Regions from separate parts of the Homo sapiens genome. Here region 1 is linked to region 2. Evidence: promoter capture Hi-C in 16 types of primary human blood cells and fetal thymus (Javierre and others, 2016). All regions are on one chromosome and are shown on one strand. The core of a region is centred on a gene start or on the middle of the fragment in contact, and the rest is flanking DNA. Distances in the headings are between cores, read along the strand shown.

The links. The method cuts DNA at HindIII sites, captures the fragments that hold promoters and counts their contacts. A CHiCAGO score of 5 or more calls a contact.
Region 1: a contact is called between a fragment that was not itself captured here and the fragment with the promoter of TET2 in region 2, in 1 of 17 cell types (fetal thymus). The highest score is 10.4, in fetal thymus.

What each region holds. Positions count from the first base shown.
Region 1 is chr4:110,192,996-110,196,074 of GRCh38, forward strand. All of the region lies in intron 1 of ELOVL6 (ELOVL fatty acid elongase 6), which reads right to left. Among named protein-coding and RNA genes, the nearest start is that of ELOVL6, 4.1 kb to the right of the region's middle. The HindIII fragment of the contact is 1,138 bases long and covers 830-1,967 here.
Region 2 is chr4:105,145,246-105,148,442 of GRCh38, forward strand. It overlaps TET2 (tet methylcytosine dioxygenase 2), which reads left to right and starts at 1,631. Exons shown (of 11, transcript NM_001127208.3): 1 at 1,631-1,734. It overlaps LOC124900868, which reads right to left. Exons shown (of 3, transcript XM_047416559.1): 2 at 250-1,716. The coding sequence ends at 1,028. RefSeq lists silencers at 893-1,572, 2,536-2,605 and enhancers at 1,643-1,812, 2,156-2,205. The HindIII fragment of the contact is 4,110 bases long and covers 1-1,859 here.

The sequences.
Region 1 (3,079 bases), core at 149-2,648, 5.0 Mb after region 2:
CCTACTCTGTTCCATAGTCACAGATGCACTGTTTTCCAGCCATTTTTCTTACAAATGAATGTAGAAGGTTGCAAGGAAGACTTCAGGAAGCAATTCAAAGCAATCCTCACTAAATGAAAAACAACAGCCAAATACTATGTCTGCATTTGAACAGTTTCATTAACATTATGCTGCTATATTTTTTATGCTGCTATATTTGAGTTAAATGCTAACACAGGTTTTTAGTGCTTTTTATGTTCTTTAATCATGAAATTGTACATCGTGTTACTTTCCAAACTTCACCTACAAAAAAGATATAGATGTACAACTCCTTTTAAAATGTTTCACGGCCGGTTGCAGTGGCTCAAGCCTGTTATCTCAGCACTTTCGGAGGCCGAGGTGGGCGGATTACTTGAGGTCAGGAGTTCAAGACCAACCTGACCAACACGGTGAATTCCCATCTCTACTAAAAATACAAAAATTAGCTTGGTGTCATGGCAGGCACCTGTAATCCCAGCTGCTTGGGAGGTTGAGACATAAGAATCACTGGAACCCGGAGGCAGAGGTTGCAGTGAGCCAAGATTGTGCCACTGCACTCCAGCCTGGGCAACAGAGTGAGACCCTGTCTCAAAAATAAAACAAAATAAAATAAAATGTTTCACTCCATTTTTACCTTTGGTAAAAACAAATTTGTGAATAAAAAGGCTTCCTCAGCTGAACAGCATTTAATTCTTAAAATTCCTATACTATCTTATAGACTCTATAATACAGAATACAAAATGTTAAAACAAGTAAACCCTTTTACACCACCAAGGGAGTGAGTGGGGAGAAAAGTCAGAAAAATATATAAAGCTTTGAAAGGCTGGATGTGTGGAGAATGCCAGGAGAGGGGGAGGGTTTCATGAAGTTCTAGGCAAGCCCTTTGAAGACGTCACCTCACATACATAATGTTACAGCAGTCAGCACAGGCCTCCTGCTTTCCTATTGGTGGGCACCGTGTCAGCCGACATCAGAAGATAATCATCATTGGCTAGACAATTACAACTGGAGCAACTAGCATCCACTGCTGTTAGCACAAACCTGGCAGGCTGCTGAAAGAGAAGGCAGAGAGAGCCCAGCTTCCCTTCTCACTCAATGAATTATATGTCGCCTTAGCAATCACCAGGTGATTTTGCTCCCTGGCTAGCAGCACTTCCAACTTAAGTCAGCTCTTAGTGAGAAAAACAGGTAAAGGCCAGACATCTCATAAAAGAGCAAAATGTCTCTATTTTCAATGTTGTAAAATTGCAAGGACTTTTCAGTGAAAATTAGAATTCAAAACTCCTATTTGGACCTATGAGCAGACATTTTTCTCTACCTCATGTAATAAACTCTCATTGACCAGATAATATAACCAGACAGGATATTTTTCACTGGACATGTAGTTTCAAGATGAGGCCCAGGATGATTCTACAAGGGAATACACTTATTACTTTGCATTTCAATTGCTATTCTAACCTATTATATATGAAACTTTTTGCTAGCAAAGTAAAAAAAGTCTGCAGTATTTACTTTCATGGCTAGGCCAATGAGTATGAGGTTAATGATTCATTAAAGCAGCAATAAACTTGAAAACTAGCCTCAGTTGAACCCTTTAGGGTTTATACAAATGCTACTCCAAAAGTCGGGCCCCATTCCATTAACACGTGCTATGGTTAGTAAGTATGGATTATAGGGTATGTTAACATTAATTTGCGCTATGGTTAGTAAGTATGGATTATAGCGTATGTTTAATAAAGTATTCTTATTTTAGGTCCTCTTAAATGATGCTAGTTAGCAAAGGCAGCATACTGGCAAAATACTACTCCTGGCCATTCTCACAGTTCTTCAAAAGCCAATGTAGTTCACTTTTGAGAGAGGATGTTTTAATTCTCTAAATTAACAAGTTTTGCCTGTTACTAAGAAGAGATTTATAAGGACAACCATAAATTCCCAAAAGACAGAGTAGAAGCTTCACTATATCATGTTTTTCCTCCAGAAGCTATTTCAAACCATTTTAAGTTAATGAGTCTGAAAAAGGTAAGATTTTATGGTTTCCTCAAGTTCCTCTCTCCTCAAGAGGGTCTAAGCCTTGGTTATGGAGTTCCCTTCTCCTATTAAAAAGGGAGTGAAAAGAAAATCTGGTTCAAGACTTTTTGTCCTGCATTAGCTGGATTCTATTAAAAATAAAAACTAAAAGCTTTAATTTGAACCTCCCGGGTTCAAGCAATTCTCCTGCCTCAACCTCCCGAGTAGCTGGGATTACAGGCACCCGCCACCACGCTCGGCTAATTTTTTTGTATTTTTAGTAGAGATGGGGTTTCACCATATTGGCCTGGCTGGTCTCGAACTCCTGTCGTCAGGTAATCCACCCACCTCAGCCTCCCAAAGTGCTGGGATTACAGGCAGGAGCCACCACACCCGGCTAATAAAATTAAATTTTAAAAAGTGTTTAAAGTCTTTTTGGCTGTACAGTTTTTGGGGAGGGAGGAGAGATAAAATTGGGCACCCTGGGATATTGGGAGAAATGCACAAAATCTGGCATTTAAAAAAAAACATGAAAGTAAGACAATTAGGGTCAGGAAGAGTTGCAAGGGAGGGGTAACAGCCAGCAGGGTTCTTTGACTGCAATAAGCAATCTAAGAACATAACATCAACAGAGAGCAGAAGCCAGGAAGGGAAAAATCCCAAGATGTGACTCTGCCACGGTATGCAAGTTCTAGCCTGTTAACCTTCGGGTATTAACGAGTAGTGCTGGCAATAAAATGGGCACCAATCACCATTTCAACTCACTGGACATTTTCTCAAGAATGTGCCTTATGCAAAGCACTCTGCTAGGTGCTTTGCAGAATCAAGAGTGGGATGACAAGAACCGTAACCTGAAGAGCTGATGGTCTGTAAGTTAATAACCATGTATATAACAGTAAAGGATATTGCCAGAAGAAAGGTACAGATAAAGAACTAGGAGGAAACAGTGGTCAGAACCTAACAGGAGTAGATACGTTGGCACATTTTTGTCATTTTCAGTCCCACGAGGGCTGAGACCTGTCTGGCTCAGTACTGAGTGAATGGAGAGAAGAGG
Region 2 (3,197 bases), core at 381-2,880:
CTTCAAAGAGGAAATATTCCGATTTCGTAAAATTAGGGCTTCGCTTTTAAAAAAAATTACAGACCAAAAAAAGTGTGGTTACACAATATAACTAGTATTGACTTAAGGGTACTGTGATCACCATGCAGTGATCCCATAAAAGATGTGACCAAAATACCCACTTAAAATTTGAACGTCAGTCATGTAAGAACATGTAAAAGATGAAGGGAATATTTCAAAAACGACTATCTGACGTAATATGATACTTACTATGACTCATATGGGCTTTGTTCTTCATCTCATCTTCAAATAAAAAGTTGATGATTAGAAAAAGGAGCATTAGAAGGGGGAAGTAACACTACTCGGCAATAGAGAAAAACTCCGGTCAAAGGAAGAGCATAGTTACAGAGCTCCGAATGTCAGGGAAAATCAAGCATCCGTCATTCGGAATTAGCTCTGTATCGGTCGGTTTCTTCATTACTTAATTGTACGGGGGGAAACTACTTCAAAGTAAGGGCTCTTACGAGAGGCAACTTAAGCATTTGAAAGTGCAGGTTTATTTCCTCCTAGCGAGAAGTAGGGGGTCACTAGTGAGAAACCTATTTCAATCTGTGAGACGCCCCCTTCTACTCAGCCCACGTGGCTAAAGTAAACAGAAGGTGGGCCGGGGCGGGGAGAAACAGAACTCGGTCAATTTCCCAGTTTGTCGGGTCTTTAAAAATACAGGCCCCTAAAGCACTAAGGGCATGCCCTCGGTGAAACAGGGGAGCGCTTCTGCTGAATGAGATTAAAGCGACAGAAAAGGGAAAGGAGAGCGCGGGCAACGGGATCTAAAGGGAGATAGAGACGCGGGCCTCTGAGGGTAAGGTGGGCGCAAGCGGAGGTGTGGTGCGGGGAGAGGTGCCAGTGGGTGGAGGCGGGGGCCAGAGCGAGGGCACGTGCGGGTACACTCCGGAGGAGGTGGGTGCGCGCGGGGGCGTGTGCGCGGGACCTCGAAGTGGTGGTGGAGTGCAGACCAGCAAAAAGTTTCAAAGGGAAATCTTAGATGTCACGTCTTTGTCCAGGCACCCGTGCCATCCCAACCTCCCACCTCGCCCCCAACCTTCGCGCTTGCTCTGCTTCTTCTCCCAGGGGTGGAGACCCGCCGAGGTCCCCGGGGTTCCCGAGGGCTGCACCCTTCCCCGCGCTCGCCAGCCCTGGCCCCTACTCCGCGCTGGTCCGGGCGCACCACTCCCCCCGCGCCACTGCACGGCGTGAGGGCAGCCCAGGTCTCCACTGCGCGCCCCGCTGTACGGCCCCAGGTGCCGCCGGCCTTTGTGCTGGACGCCCGGTGCGGGGGGCTAATTCCCTGGGAGCCGGGGCTGAGGGCCCCAGGGCGGCGGCGCAGGCCGGGGCGGAGCGGGAGGAGGCCGGGGCGGAGCAGGAGGAGGCCCGGGCGGAGGAGGAGAGCCGGCGGTAGCGGCAGTGGCAGCGGCGAGAGCTTGGGCGGCCGCCGCCGCCTCCTCGCGAGCGCCGCGCGCCCGGGTCCCGCTCGCATGCAAGTCACGTCCGCCCCCTCGGCGCGGCCGCCCCGAGACGCCGGCCCCGCTGAGTGATGAGAACAGACGTCAAACTGCCTTATGAATATTGATGCGGAGGCTAGGCTGCTTTCGTAGAGAAGCAGAAGGAAGCAAGATGGCTGCCCTTTAGGATTTGTTAGAAAGGAGACCCGACTGCAACTGCTGGATTGCTGCAAGGCTGAGGGACGAGAACGAGGTCAGAGCGCTTCTCTTATGCCGCGAAACTCTCCCTTTCTTCTCCCCTTCGCTTTTTCTCGGGCTTCCAGGGACTGGGGAGCAAACCCTGTAGTGTCACCCACAAATACCAAGAGGGAAGAGGGAAGCTTCACAAATTACTGGAGCCTCTTCAACATGGCTGACAAATATAGTTTTAATTCCCTCTACCCCTTTTAAACCTGTAGTTCTGTGTTCTCTTCTCTCCTCCTAATGCTCGTCCCCTCATCTCCCAGAAAACTTACCTTTGTGCCTCCGACGAGCCGGTTTCCCGGCCTTTTTTAATCCTCAGAAAAGTGATTTTTAAATTTGCTTTCCTTTCTAAAATAGTTCAGCTTTGGGGGCACTACTTTTCCCTTTAATCCTCTTCCCCTGTTTCTTTCGTGTAAGTGAAACGAGTCTCCCGTTTATCCTGAACAACCTCAGAGAGAACACTGATAGGGTGTTTTTCGACCCTTTTATCAGCTGTAGGGTCTGGGTCTGGGTTTGTGTCTGCCTCCTCCTACCTTCTTATCCCCCTTTAGGGGGCTGTACGAAGTGAATGTCACAGGGAGTGGAATTGGAGTACACTGAGTGGGTTTTTTTTTTCCTTAAGTCCGCGCGTTTTGTTAGCGGCGCTGAGTGAAAGAGGAAAGAATAGTTTCTCTGGTTCCCCAAACAAGACCAGAACTCACTTTTCTCAAGGTACATAAGTCAGCGCTGGGCTGAGCCTTCCAGCCTGGGGAATGTATGTAAGAGAATTTATGGACAAATCTGTGTCCCGGCTTTGTGCTTCTCCCGAATCAGCTTCGTTTGGTTCCTTGGTAAGTGACAGGCAGACACAAAGGCAGGCGCAGGCCCGGGGAGGGGGCGGGAGGGGGTGGGGAGCGCAGCGTTGGAGTTGCAAGACTGCAAGGTCAGGGGCGCCTAAAGAAATGAAACCCAATCCCAGCAAAGAAGTGAAGAGCAGATTTATAACAGTCCCATCCAAATTTCTCTTTGGCTTCTCTCTTTGGTCTTTCATCTCTCTGCCTTTCTCTCTGTGTCTCCTCTCTACTCTTTCTTCTCTCTCTCTCATACACATACACACACACACACACACACACACCTCACTCGCATCTTGCTGAATCTTTTCACTGGGACTGCTTGTCTAGTTTTATTAAGCTAATAGGGTTTGTATGGAGAGTTTTCTACCTATGACATAATGAAGTGTGGCCTGGATAGACTCCTGGAAAGGCCGAAAATGAAATATAAGTGTTATTTGCTGGTTATTCCCCTCATGATATACTTTTAATTACATTGAGGGAGTTCTCCCTTCTTCATCTAATGTTTAAGAATTGAGAAAAGGCTTATTTTCCAGCGGTAAAATTTAGTGCATAAAATTTAGTGAAATATTTATATATTTACGTGTCTAGGGAGTGGAATACATTCATGAATTTAATATCTCAAATCACACATTGTGCTTTT